3 separate regions of the Homo sapiens genome follow, and regions 2 and 3 are each linked to region 1. The links are contacts of gene promoters, found by promoter capture Hi-C in human tissues and cell types (Jung and others, 2019). All regions are on one chromosome and are shown on one strand. The core of a region is centred on a gene start or on the middle of the fragment in contact, and the rest is flanking DNA. Distances in the headings are between cores, read along the strand shown.

Region 1 (4,646 bases), core at 1,321-3,820:
TGTTTTTTTGGTGGAGACGGGGTTTCGCTGTGTTGGCCGGGCTGGTCTCCAGCTCCTAACCGCGAGTGATCCGCCAGCCTCGGCCTCCCGAGGTGCCGGGATTGCAGACGGAGTCTCGTTCACTCAGTGCTCAATGTTGCCCAGGCTGGAGTGCAGTGGCGTGATCTCGGCTAGCTACAACCTCCACCTCCCAGCCGCCTGCCTTGGCCTCCCAAAGTGCCGAGATTGCAGCCTCTGCCCGGCCGCCACCCCGTCTGGGAAGTGAGGAGCGTCTCTGCCTGGCTGCCCATCGTCTGGGATGTGAGGAGCCCCTCTGCCCGGCTGCCCAGTCTGGGAAGTGAGGAGCGCCTCTTCCCGGCCGCCATCCCGTCTAAGAAGTGAGGAGCGTCTCTGCCCGGCCGCCCATCATCTGAGATGTGGGGAGCGCCTCTGCCCCGCCGTAGCCACCCCGCCAGCCGCCCCGTCCGGGAGGGAGGTGGGGGGCCAGCCCCCGCACGGCCAGCCGCCCCGTCCGGGAGGGAGGTGGGGGGGCGCCTCCGCCCGGCCGCCGCCCCGTCCGGGAGGTGGGGGGCGCCTCTGCCCGGCCGCCCCTTCTGGGAGGTGAGGAGCCCCTCTGCCCGGCCACCACCCCGTCTAGGAGGTGTACCCAACAGCTCATTGAGAACGGGCCATGATGACAATGGTGGTTTTGTGGAATAGAAAAGGGGGAAAGGTGGGGAAAAGATAGAGATCGGATTGTTGCTGTGTCTGTGTGGAAAGAAGTAGACATGGGAGACTTCATTTTGTTCTGTACTAAGAAAAATTCTTCTGCCTTGGGATGCTGTTGATCTATGACCTTACCCCCAACCCTGTGCTCTCTGAAACATGTGCTGTGTCCACTCAGGGTTAAATGGATTAAGGGCGGTGCAAGATGTGCTTTGTTAAACAGATGCTTGAAGGCAGCATGCTCGTTAGGAGTCATCACCACTCCCTAATCTCAAGTACCCAGGGACACAAACACTGCGGAAGGCCGCAGGGTCCTCTGCCTAGGAAAGCCAGAGACCTTTGTTCACTTGTTTATCTGCTGACCTTCCCTCCACTATTGTCCTATGACCCTGCCAAATCCCCCTCTGCCAGAAACACCCAAGAATGATCAATAAAAAAAAAAAAAAAAAAAAAAGGAAGAATAGACTCTCTCTGGGACTGCCAATAATTTTTCCTTCTAAGCATAGACACCGGACCACTCTCCACCTAAGCATCACGAAAAATGTAGAGAAAGGAAGAGCTAAGAGCTCCTTAAACAAGTTCAGGCTTGACACAACCCTGGCCCTGACAGCCAGGGTCTTCAAGCGGGCCTTTCTGTGAAGGGTGGCCAGGCATCAACTTAGTAGGAGAGAAAACAGATGACTTATTTCCATCCACACTTAAGGAAAATGCAGTCTCCAAGGACTGCGTACATTTCTTTTTCGAGAAGGAGTCTCGCTGTTGTCGCCCAGGCTGGAGTGCAGTGGCGCAGTCTGGGCTCACAGCAACCTCTGCCTCCCGGATTCAAGCAATTCTCCTGCCTCAGCCTCGTGAGTAGCTGGGATTACAGGCACCCGCCACCACGCCTGGCTAATTTTTGTAGTTTTGGTAGAGACGGGGTTTCACCATGTTGGCCAGGCTGGTCTCGAACTCCTGACCTCCAGTGATTCGCCCGCCTTGGCCTCCCAAAATGCTGGGATTACAGGCGTGAGCCACCGCGCCCGGGCGACTGCGCACATTTCTATGGAGCTGTAAGTTAAAAGAGAAGGCAGTGAGGTGCTTCTGTCATTCTATGACAGAAACAGCTAAAGAGTAGAGAAATGTTCACAAGATTTAATAGAACAGAAATAGGAGAAGGTGCACACAAGCTCAACCAACTATAGCCTCACAAATAAAAGTGTCTTTTGTGTGTAGTACTTAAGTTTGGAATATTCTTTCTTATACAAATGAGTGGGGCTTAACCTAAGAAATCCTGGCCAGATTCTGCGACGAATGCATCGGTTATCTCTGACCCATCAGCAAACATCTTTTTCTGTGGCTTCAGTTTCCTCAGTAAAACAGAGGGGGTTGCGACGGACTCAGTCCGAGGGACAGCCATTCTCCAACGTCTATCCAAAGCCTAGGGCACCTCAATACTAACCGGCAGGCCAGCGCCCCCTCCGCGGGGCTGCGGACAGGACGCCTGTTATTCCATTCCTCGGCCGGGCTCTACAGGTGACCGGAAGAAGAGCCCCGAGTGCGGGACTGCAGTGCGCCCGACCTGCTCTAGGCGCAGGTCACTCCCGAACCCCGGCAGCAAAGCATCCAGCGCCGGAAAAGGTCCCGCGGTCGCCCCGGGGCCGGCGCTGGGGAGGAAGGAGTGGAGCGCGCTGGCCCCGTGACGTGGTCCAATCCCAGGCCGACGCCGGCTGCTTCTGCCCAACCGGTGGCTGGTCCCCTCCGCCGCCCCATTACAAGGCTGGCAAAGGGAGGGGGCGGGGCCTGGGACGTGGTCCAATGAGTACGCGCGCCGGGGCGGCGGGGGCGGGGCCGGGCGCGCAGCGCAGGGCCGGGCGGCCGAGGCTCCAATGAGCGCGCGCCGCGTCCGGGGCCGGCTGGTGCGCGAGACGCCGCCGAGAGGTTGGTGGCTAATGTAACAGTTTGCAAACCGAGAGGAGTTGTGAAGGGCGCGGGTGGGGGGCGCTGCCGGCCTCGTGGGTACGTTCGTGCCGCGTCTGTCCCAGAGCTGGGGCCGCAGGAGCGGAGGCAAGAGGTAGCGGGGGTGGATGGAGGTGCGGGCCGGCCACCCCTCCTAGGGGAGACAGCGTGCGAGCTCCGGGGGCGGGTCGGGAGCGCAAGGGAGGGCCGCGCGGACGCCGGGCGCTCGGCCTCGCACCGGGGGGCACGCAGCTCGGCCCCCGGTCTGTCCCCACTTGCTGGGGCGGGCCGGGATCCGTTTCCGGGAGTGGGAGCCGCCGCCTTCGTCAGGTGGGGTTTAGGTGAACACCGGGTAACGGCTACCCGCCGGGCGGGGAACCTTACCGCCCCTGGCACTGCGTCTGTGGGCACAGCGGGGCCGGGGAGTGAGCTGGGAAAGGGGAGGGGGCGGGACAACCCGCAGGGATGCCGAGGAGGAGATAGGCCTTTCCTTCATCCTAGCTACCCCCAACGTCATTACCTTTCTCTTCCCGTCCAGGCCCAGCTGGCTTTCCCCGTCAGCGGGGGAGCTCCAGGTGTGGGGAGGTGGTTGAGCCCTGGGCGGGGATCCCTGGCCGCACCCCAGGTGTCTGACAACAGGCACAGTGCTGCGGTGCGCCACTCACTGCCTGTGTGGTGGACAAAAGGCTCGGGTCTCCTTTCTCTTGTCCTGTTAGCTTCTCTGTTTAGGGATGTGGCAAAGCCGAGGACCCATGCTCTTTCACTTGGGCCTTTGTGTGGGCGCTGCTGGGATGATTAGAGAATGGTTTGTACCCATCAGGAGGGAGAAGGGGAGAAGTAGGCTGATCTGCCCTGGGTAAGAATGAAGTAGATATGAATCTTACAGCCTCTCCGTTCTGGGATGTGATTCTGTCTCCTTCACTCCGGGTATCCAGTTTTAAGTGTTTTCTTTCTTCGCCTCCCCCAGGGGCACTATGGCAGACAAAGTTAGGAGGCAGAGGCCGAGGAGGCGAGTCTGTTGGGCCTTGGTGGCTGTGCTCTTGGCAGACCTGTTGGCACTGAGTGGTATGTACCCCAGTAGAGGGAGCAAATGGATAAATGATGACTGAAGGATGCATGATGGGAATTGAGCTTGGGGCTGTTGGCCAGAAGTCTCTTGAGTTGTTAGGTCCAGGCCTTTTTGTCTTTTGCCATCTTCGTTTACCCATGGAAAGTGGTATGCTTTGATTAGAGGGAGTCCCAGGAAGGTGGGCGAAGGGAGAGCTAACTGACAAACCTCTTTTCCCTTCAGATACACTGGCAGTGATGTCTGTGGACCTGGGCAGTGAGTCCATGAAGGTGGCCATTGTCAAACCTGGAGTGCCCATGGAAATTGTCTTGAATAAGTGAGGGTGGCCCCCGTGTTAAGGGTGGGGAACGAGGGAGTCTGGGCTCCAAGTGTGAATGTGTTAGTCATAGTGCCCACAGCAGACTTCGGCATCTGAGTGGTTAAATGTGTGTGAGTGTCGAGGCTTCTGAGTCCTTCTGCTGCAGGCACCTGGGCCCAAAATCTCTTTTCCTCAGGGAATCTCGGAGGAAAACACCGGTGATCGTGACCCTGAAAGAAAATGAAAGATTCTTTGGAGACAGTGCAGCAAGCATGGTGAGCTAGCAGTCCCTCTTCCCAGAGTGGTGGGCAGAGGAGAGGAGATGGCAGCCCCCAGAGTCTGTTTCCTTATCAGTCTCTGTGATGTAAGAGGTAGGTAATGGTGGACTTGGGAGCCTAATACTAGTCTGCTCCTTCTTCACCCCTCAGGCGATTAAGAATCCAAAGGCTACGCTACGTTACTTCCAGCACCTCCTGGGGAAGCAGGCAGATAACCCCCATGTAGCTCTTTACCAGGCCCGCTTCCCGGAGCACGAGCTGACTTTCGACCCACAGAGGCAGACTGTGCACTTTCAGATCAGCTCGTGAGTGCTCTGTTGGGGAAGGTGGTCTCGGCAACGCTGCTGGGCTCCTCATTGGT
Region 2 (4,646 bases), core at 332-2,831, 360 kb after region 1:
CACATGACTGTAGTCCCAGCTACTCAGGAGGCTGAGGCAGGAGGATCACTTGAGCCTGGGAGGTCAAGGCTACAGCGAGCTGTGGTCACACCATTGCACTCCAGTCTGGGCAACAAAGCAAGACCATGTCTCAAATAAATAAATAAATAAATAAATAAATAAATAAATAAAAACCCACCACCATTTATTTGCTCACAATTCTGTAGTTTGGCAGGGCTCAGTTGGGACGGCTCATCTGTGTTCTTATGTGATGTTTTGGCTGAGGTGGCTCAACTGGGACTGTGAGATCCCACAGCTTCACTCACCCATGCAGTGCCTCAGCTGAAGGGGTCAGAATGGCTGGTGGCTGGCTGGGCATCCTGCTCTCCCTTTGCTGTCTTTCATCTTCTAGGTCATTTCTCTCTCCAATAAAGCAGGTGAACTTGGTTTCATAGTGGCTGGATCCCAAGAGGGTGAAAATGGAAACTGCCAGGCCTCCTAAGGCCTAAGTCTGGACCTGGCATAATATCACTTCCACCTTCTACTAGTCAAAGTGAGTCACAAGGCTGGCCCAGATTTAAGGGGAGGGGCGAAAGGAAATAAATTTCACTTCTTTTTTTTTTTTTTTTTCTGAGAGGAGACTAGCTCTGTCAGCTAGACTGGAGTGCAGTGGTGCAATCTTAGCTCACTGCAACCTCCGCCTCCCGAGTTCAAGCAATTCTCCTGCCTCAGCCTTCTGAGTAGCCCAGCTAATTTTTGCATTTGCAGTAGAGATGGGGTTTCACCATGTTGACTAGGCTGCTCTCAAATTCCTGACCTCATGTGATCTGCCGACTTTGGCCTCCCAAAGTGGTGTGATTACAGGTGTGAGCCACTGCGCCCGGCCACATTCCACTTCTTGATGGGAGGAGTGACATTACAGGGATGAACAAAACTGTTGGTGGCCATCTTTGTTGATAATGCACCACAACGAGTAAAAGTGAAATGGAGATTTTTTCATCAATGGGAGGCTCCACATGAAAATTTTCTAAAACAAAACAAAATTTAAAAATTAAAACAAGGTCTTTTCAGAGGAAGACTTTTGAAAGAGTTTATCCTAAAGTACCATCAGCAAGAGAGCTGCTAATACATTTTTGTTAAGAGAAAGGAAATTGACCTCAAAAGGAGTGAGAGGGCAATGAAAGCAATGAAGAGCAAAGAAACTGGTAAACATGTGGGTAAGTCCACAGAAGCACTGATGGTGGGAACCACAGCAGCAATGACGATGATTGGTTGGAGGCATGAAAACAAAGTCAGCCTGTGATGCCGAGTGACAGTCTGTAAGACAGAAGGTGTGATCAGAGCTAAAGAGTGCCTTTCCTCCTGCAGGGGACAATTTCTGATTAGCTTTAGATTCTGTAATTCAGTGCGCATGTGAAAAATGTGGATGGAGGGAAGCATGAGAGACTAGGAATGAAATCCATCACTTCCAAGCCCAAACAAACAAACAAACAAATGTATGAACAATAAACAAATAAAGAAATAAAACTAGAAAAAGTAATAAAAGAGACTCAATACATTTTTTTTTCTTGAGACTGAGTCTCGCTCTGTCACCCAGGCTGGAGTGCAGTGGCACAATCTTGGCTCACTGCAACCTCCACCTCCTGGGTTCGAGCAGTAAGAGAATCAATAAATTTGAGGCCGGGTGCGGTGGCTCACACTGGTAATCCTAGCACTTTTGGAGGCTGAGGGGGGCAGACTACCTGAGATCAGGAGCTCGAGACCAGCCTGGCCAACATAGCAAAACCCTGTTTCTACTAAAAATACAAAAATTAGCCGGGTATGGTGGCAGGCACCTGTAATCCCAGCTACTGGGGAGGCTGAGGCAGGAGAACTGCTTGAACCCAGGAGGTAGAGGTTGCAGTGAGCCAAGATTGCGCCACTGCACTCCAGCCTGGGCGACAAAGCGAGACTCTGTCTCAAAAAAAAAAAAAGAAAAATTTGACAGGAGTAGGACAAAAGTGAAGAGAAACAAAAAGGGCTAGGTGCGGTGGCTCACGCCTGTAATCCCAACACTTTTGGAGGCCAAGGTGGACAGATCACCTGAGGTCAGGAGTTCGAGACCAGCCTGGCCAACATGGTGAAACCCCATCTCTACTAAAAATACAAAAATTAGGTGGGCGTGGTAGCAGGCACCTGTAATCCCAGCTACTCAGAAGGCTGAGGCAGGAGAATCACTTGAACCTGGGAGGCCGAGGTTGCAATGAGTCAAGATTGCGTCACTGGACTTCAGCCTGGTTGACAGAGCAAGACTCTGTTTCCAAAAAAAAAAAAAAAAAAAGTGAATGTTCTTAATGTCCCTGAAATGTACACTTAAAAGTGGTTAAGATAGAAAATTTTATGCCATGTATATTTTACCACAACAAAAAAACATGCCAAGCAACCCTAGCAGATCCACGCATGAACAGCAGAGGTATAAAAGCATGCAGGGGACTGATACACCATACATTCAGGAGCGCAGTCATGCCTGGGTGGGCGAGGAACCCAGGTAGGAAAGGGAACACCAAACACAGGATGCTTTCGGTGGATCTGTTATGCTTCCGTTCTAAAAACAGAATCTGACACGCTTACATTTCTTACCATTATACTGTAGACTTTTCTTTTCTTTTTCTTTTTGAGGTGGAGTTTCACTGTTGTTGCCCAGGCTGGAGCGCAATGGCATGACCTCTGCTCACCGCAACCTCCGCCTCCTGCGTTCAAGCAATTCTCCTGCCTCAGCCTCCCAAGTAGCTGTGATTACAGGCATGCGCCATTACGCCTGGCTAATTTTGTATTTTTAGTAGAGACAGGGTTTCTCCATGTTGGTCAGGCTGGTCTCGAACTTCCGACCTCAGGTGATCCACCTGCCTTGGCCTCCCAAAGTGCTGGGATTACAGACGTGAGCCATTGCACCCAGCTTGTTTTTCTTTCTTTTTTTTTTTTTTGAGACGGAGTTTCGCTCTTGTTGCCCAGGCTGAAGTGCAATGGCACCGTATCGGGTCACTGCAACCTCCACCTCCCGGGTTCAAGTGATTCTCCTGCCTCAGCCTCCTGAGTAGCTGGGATTACAGGCGCCTGCCACCACGCCCAGCTAATTGTTTGTATTTTTAGTAGAGACAGGGTTTCTCCATGTTAGGCAGGCTGGTCTCGAACTCCCAACCTCAGGTGATCCGCCCACCTCAGCCTCCTAAAGTGCTGGGATTACAGGCATGAGCCACTGTACCTGGCCAGCTGACCACCTCTTTATCCTGGGAACAAGCTCCTCCTGCAGCTGCCTCCGCGTATTTGGCATCATCCTTGCCAAGTCTGGAGCAGGGCCTTGTGTGTGGTGTTGTCTCCCCTGGAAGTCTCCAAGTCAGAAGATCCTTCCTGACCCACCCTCTCCAGGCCGACCCACCACATCGCCATTGCAAGAATCCCAGCAGCGGAGGGTGGAGAAACTGCCTGGGGAATCTGAGCTATTAAACAAGCCGTCATCCGCAGGGGCTGCAGCAGCAAAGGCTGCCTTTTCTGGGGAAACCTGGAAGTGTCTTTTTGAGTCAACAGTAGGTGCCCTGCTGTCCTCGCTGCATTTGCTGGAAGTTGTTTGCAGAGGTCTGGGCATCTGGAATTCACTGCCAAGGCCGTGAGGAAGGTGGTCGACGTTCCAGCTCAGCGTCACCTGCCAGAGCCTCCTCCTTCCCCAGCAGGTGACCCCTTCCCCCTTGAACCGGAGATGAAGGTGTTTGCTATGATCTCACCTCCATGTTACTGACTGTCTCCATTCCCCTGGCTGAGCTAAGCCTCTGTGGCCATGGGTGTCCTCTGAGCTCTCATGCAAATGGTGAAGCCAAGCCTGGACTGCATGCGGACCATGGTAAGGCCCCAGAGGACATGGTCCTATTTGCTGCTTTGAGGCTGATCTTTGCTTATCTGACCACCAGGGTTACCCTGAGGCTGCAAGCGTGGAAGTAATGCCCAGGTAGGCCCCTGCCACCCTCCCTCCAGCCACAGGCTTGTGTTATGTGAGGTTCAGAGTGAGAAGGCTCCTGAAGGAGCAGCTTTGTGGTGATTGGCTGACAACACTCTCAACACGCCTCCTCTGAGCCTTCTGGAATATTTGCCAGGAACATGACTGAGGCCTGCACAGTGAGGCAGAGGACACAGTCCTCTGGGCCCCTCAGCTGCTGAAATGAAGTCAACTGCAGTGTTTCTACCCATAAGTGAAACAGGCGTATGGCTGACTATCTGCGCGGCTAAAATACATCATTTCCGACCTTTTTTCTTTTTTTTGAGATGGAGTTTCACTCTTATTCCCCAGGCTAGAGTGCAATGGCGTGATCTCAGCTCACTACAACCTCCACCTCCCAGGTTCAAGCAATTCTCCTGCCTCAGCCTCCCAAATAGCTGGGATTACAGGCATGTGCCACCATGCCCTGCTAATTTTGTATTTTTAGTAGAGACGGGGTTTCACCATGTTGGTCAGGCTGGTCTCAGAACTCCTGAGGTCAGGTGATCCACCCACCTCAGCCTCCCAAAATGCTGGGATTACAGGCATAAGCCACCGTGCTGGCTAGTTTTGTATTTTTAGTAGAGACGGGGTTTCACCATGTTGGTCAGGTTGGTCTTGAAACTCCTGAGGTCAGGTGATCCACACGCCTTGGCCTCCC
Region 3 (4,646 bases), core at 1,028-3,527, 300 kb before region 1:
AAAACAAAACAACAACAACAACACACAAACCTGACAAGAGAAAAACAAACCTGAAGCTGCCGAGCAGGAGTGGATGCAGCCTGATCAGGGTCTGGAGCAAGGAGCCGGGCTTTCCTGAGCTGTGGCCCGGCAGGGAAGATCGCCTGGACGTGGAGCCAGCATCGCCCCGTGCCCTCGGCGTTTGCATTTGTAAACTTGTGGTCTTCCTATGTGTCAGAAACAACTGTGTCTTGGGGGGGAAGACCCTCGCTGCGCCGCTTCCCGCCGCAGCGCCCGCGCCTCCGAGGGGACAGCGCCCTCTGGAGCTCGCTGGGAGCATCACCGCCTGGACGCCCGCGCCGCGGAGGAGCCGGCGCCCATCTCCACCCGCACGGCTCGCCGGTCCAGAGCCATGAGCCAAGAGCCCTCTTCACGCTGCTAACTCCAGGGGACAGACGAAGGGACATCTTTGGAAAACGCTGGTTTTGGTTTTTAAAAAGCCCAACTTTTTTTTTTTAATTTCCATAACTAAAGTGTTCAGACTGGAGTGCTCTCCTTCAGGCCTCTTCATAGCTGGGACGTTGCACTGGTCCTTTTATTGCTTTTCCAAGTACAACTTTCTAATGCTAGCCCTCCGTGGTGCTAGGTGGGCGTTGGCCAGGCCCCAAGCACAGCCACAGTAGACCTGGGATCTAAAACAAGTTTCTGTTTTGGGGGTTTGGGTTTTTTTTTTTTTTTTTTAATGTTTTGAATGGAATTTAGTTGCCTCCAAGAATTGTGCCTTATAGCATTTGGGGACCAGGGGGTAACTGCCCCTCCTGAAATATCCCTCAGCCTCTTCCCTTTTCCCCAGTGCTCTGTTCAAACCCGCCTGGGAAAGGGATCCTGCCCTTAGCCCTGGCTCGTTGTGCATTGCAGTGAGGCAAAGAAGAAAGCAGGTAGATTCCTTCCGACAGGGCATCAAGTTCTTCCCGCCCACGTCCTCTAGCCCACCCCTGGTCTGCTCCCCAGCTGTTTGAAGGATAGCACAAGCCCCTCGTCCCTAGAGCTTCTCTCCCTTTTATTTATTCTCTTAACATCCCTTTCCCCCTGGCCTTCCTGCCCCCGCCCCCTTCTCAGAGCCTCCTAGACAATAGGCCCTTTGGACCGAGTTTCTCAGGGATGCCCAGGCCACCCCTCAGCTCTTCTTAGCGCTGGTCTCCAGTCCTGCCCTGGGAGCTGGAGCCTGGGTATTTGGGGACATCTTGCCTCAGTTGTATGGTTCTTTCCTGTGGGCTCAATTTTGCCCTACATAGTTGGATAAAACTCTGTGCTGTCCTGGAGAGTAAAGCTGTTCACCCACACAGCTGGGCCCGGCTTGTGCCCCGTGGAGCCTGGCACATTCCAGGCTCCTAGGAGGAGGCATCAGAGAAAGACACCCTGAGTTTTACTGGCCTGACACCCTTCTCCAGAGAAGACCTGTGAACCTGAGCCCAAGGGCAAGTGTACACTTGTTTACTGTGTAAGCAAGAGTAGAAGAATGTCTAATGTACAGTGGAACCTTGTACAGAATAAATAATAGCTTTGAGAAATCAGTTGGCAGATGTTGGAATCTTGATTTGGGAGTGTTTGAATCTAGGAAGGGCTCCTAGTATATTAGGGGCCATCTATTTCATTGTTTCAACCAGTTTGTAAATTCCAAGTTTCTGGAAAAAGTTACCCACTTTTTAGTTTGAACATTTAAGTTTAATTTTTTAAAAACTGAAACAATACATATTTTGGACACTATATTCTTCATCTGGATTCACCAATTGTTTACAAACACATTTAAATATACAGCCATCCCCCAGTATACACAGGGAGATTGGTTCCAAGATACACACATACCAAAATCTGCACCATATTCAAGTCCCAAGGTCACCCCTGCAGAACCTGCGTATATGAAAATCAGCCTTCTATATATGTGGGTTTTGCATCTTACAAATGCAGTATTTTCTATCCTTATTTGGTTGAAAAAATCCACGTGAAAGTGGACCCACACAGTTCAAGCCCGCATTGTTCAAAGGTCAACTGTACTTTATTCTGTCTGCCGAAACATTTTCAGGTGAGGTGTTATATCACCACTTCTAAATACTTGAGCATACATCTCCTAAGAATCAGGACATTCTCCTATGTGACATGGTTTTCACATGTCCATTTTTTTTTTTAATGAACTGTCTACTTTTTAATGCTGGTATGGGCTACTCTCTTAATTCTTGGTTGAAACTCTTGGGGCTGGGCATGGTGGCTCACACCAGTAATTCAAGAAGTTGAAGTGAGAGGATGGCTTAAGGCCAGGAGTTTGAGACCAGCCTGGGCAACATAGTGAGACCCTGTCTCTATGAAAAAAGAAACACTTGGGTGTTTTCACAGACCTATGATAAGATAAAATACATCTCTCCAGCAGATGTCAAATATAGCAAAACTTGCTCTTAGAGCAGAGTATCATTACCTGGATGTGGAGTGACCAGGGCTTAGTCTTTTTTTTTTTTTTTTTTTTTTTTTGAGACAGAGTTTCACTCTTGTTGCCCAGGCTGGAGCGCAATGGCATGATCTCAGCTCACTGCAACCTCCATCTCCTGGGTTCAAGCGATTCTCCTGCCTCAGCCTCCCAGTAGCTGGGATTACAGGCATACGCCACCACGACCAGCTATTTTTCTATTTTTAGTAGAGACGGGGGTGTCTCCATGTTGGTCAGGCTGGTCTCGAACTCCTGACCTCAGGTGATCTGCCTGACTCGGCCTCCCAAAGTGCTGAGATTACAGGCGTGAGCCACCACGCCCAGCCAGGGCTTAGTCTTTGATAAGTCAAAGATCTCAGCTTTACCACCTAATACTTAGAAACAGTTACCTTTATGTTACAGGCTTTGTTCCCTAAAGTGCTTTTTCTCAAGACTTCAGATTTAACCCCTAAAAGAGGTGATGCCTTTGGTGCACTCGGTGACCCACGTCTCCTTTGGTGTCACCTCTTCATTAGCACTGTTCAGCTTTTCCATTTCTGCTGCTGGTCTTAGAACTAGGGAAGCTGAAGGCTCCACCAGGTGAGCCTGGAGTGTTTCATCAGGATTCTTCCTCACTGCCTTCACTGCTCCAGACACTGAAAAATAAAGGCCTGACTATTCCATCCTTGCTGAGACAGAAGCACCTGCTGTCACTTAAGGCCTGTGTGCTGCTATCAAACCCACCTCATGGAGGGGGACAGTTGTGGGGGCATTTTTCTAAGCATTTCCCAAGAGTGAAGAAGAGGGATTGAAAATGACAGTGACTTAAAACTTGGAATTTCTCCCTGAGGGACCCAAACTTCCCTGGCCTGCCCTGAGGGTGGCCTGACCCAGGCTGTGATTGGAAATCTTACCCTGATGATTGCCCCCAAGCCGCAGGCAAACAGGATCCCCTCAAAATAAAAACATGAGGCTTGTAGCAAAGTGAATGGCTGTACTCTGACTAGTTCTTCACTGGAGGTAGAAGCAGCCCTGTAATTTTTGCTGTCTTCCACTGGGGAACAGATGGACTCTAGGAGACATTGAGGGCAGGGGCTCCACTCAGGTCCGCCACCCTTGCTCCCAGCTCTTCAGTAATTAATCTGTGGTGCTTTCTCATCCCCATGGCAACAGGTCCTAGTGTTACACAGAGCACAAACACACGCAGGTCTGTCCCCACGTTTTTTTGTCCATCAAGCTTTGCCTCCTAGCAACTTGGCTCTCTTCCCTCATTGTTTGCTCTTGATCCAGCAGGCCTCTCCCTAGGGGAGGGGCTTCCCCTGCAACTGCTCTTGTGTGACCTTGAACAAGAACCTCCCTCTTTCTGGGCCTCCGTGCCTCATCTGCAAATTACTGAGATAGGACTTGTGGATCTTGAAGGTCTCCACTCCCATGTTATCAATCATTCTAAGTCACTTTTCCTCTAAACACATGCTCAAGTCCCAAGATACGGAACTTAACTCTAGTTCCCTGGTTCCAGTTTATAGAATTTTTTTAAGTGACCAATGCTCAGAATGCTTACTTCTTTCTATAAAGCTATATTTTATATATTTTTTTATTTATTTATTTTTTGAGACAGAGTCTCACTGTGTCACCCAGGGTGAGAGTGCAGTCATGTGATCTCGGCTCACTGCAACCTCCACCTCCCGGGTTCAAGCGATTCTCCTGCCTCAGCCTCCCGAGTAGCTGGGATTACAGGCATGCACCACCATGCCTGACTAATTTTGTATTTTTAGTAGAGACAGGGTTTCACCATGTTGGCCAGGCTGGTCTCGAACTCCTGACCTCAGGTGATCCACCCGCCTTGACCTCCCAAACTGCTGGGATTACAGGCGTAAGCCACCATGCCCGGCCTCTACAAAGCTTTAGAGTTAGATCATAGAGGTCACCTTGTCCATGATCTCGATTTGGCAGTGAGGATACTGAGCCCTAGAGAAGACTTGCTCAAGGCCACATAGCATGTCAGAAGCAGAGACAGGATGGAACCTGGGTATCTTGACTCCCTACCCAGTTCTCTTTCCGAGTACTCTGTCTTTAGTTTGAATAATTGACAGCATTTTGCAGGACTTTCTGCAGCAAATTTTCCAACCCTGCATCTATTAGGAACTGAGCCAAACAGCAGTGTGACATTCACACATACCCAACAGCAAAACCACCATGATCTGCCTCC

Evidence for each region. Contacts are between HindIII fragments. The study calls those that stand out against the background at their distance.
Region 2: a fragment that was not itself captured here is called in contact with the fragment with the promoter of HYOU1 in region 1 in 1 of the 25 tissues and cell types used here (spleen).
Region 3: a fragment that was not itself captured here is called in contact with the fragment with the promoter of HYOU1 in region 1 in 1 of the 25 tissues and cell types used here (dorsolateral prefrontal cortex).

Annotation. Positions count from the first base shown.
Region 1 is chr11:119,055,129-119,059,774 of GRCh38, reverse strand. It overlaps HYOU1 (hypoxia up-regulated 1), which reads left to right and starts at 2,570. Exons shown (of 26, transcript NM_006389.5): 1 at 2,570-2,755; 2 at 3,608-3,705; 3 at 3,932-4,025; 4 at 4,204-4,282; 5 at 4,436-4,590. The coding sequence starts at 3,615. RefSeq lists enhancers at 2,063-2,112, 2,472-2,971, 2,972-3,472 and silencers at 2,343-2,622, 2,713-2,992. The HindIII fragment of the contact is 15,957 bases long and covers 1-4,646 here.
Region 2 is chr11:118,696,303-118,700,948 of GRCh38, reverse strand. The region is part of intron 2 of LOC105369519 (a long non-coding RNA gene); the gene reads right to left. Among named protein-coding and RNA genes, the nearest start is that of TREH, 19 kb to the right of the region's middle. The HindIII fragment of the contact is 7,665 bases long and covers 1-4,646 here.
Region 3 is chr11:119,352,122-119,356,767 of GRCh38, reverse strand. It overlaps USP2 (ubiquitin specific peptidase 2), which reads left to right. Exons shown (of 13, transcript NM_004205.5): 13 at 1-1,553. Among named protein-coding and RNA genes, the nearest start is that of MFRP, 7.7 kb to the right of the region's middle. The HindIII fragment of the contact is 6,124 bases long and covers 1-4,646 here.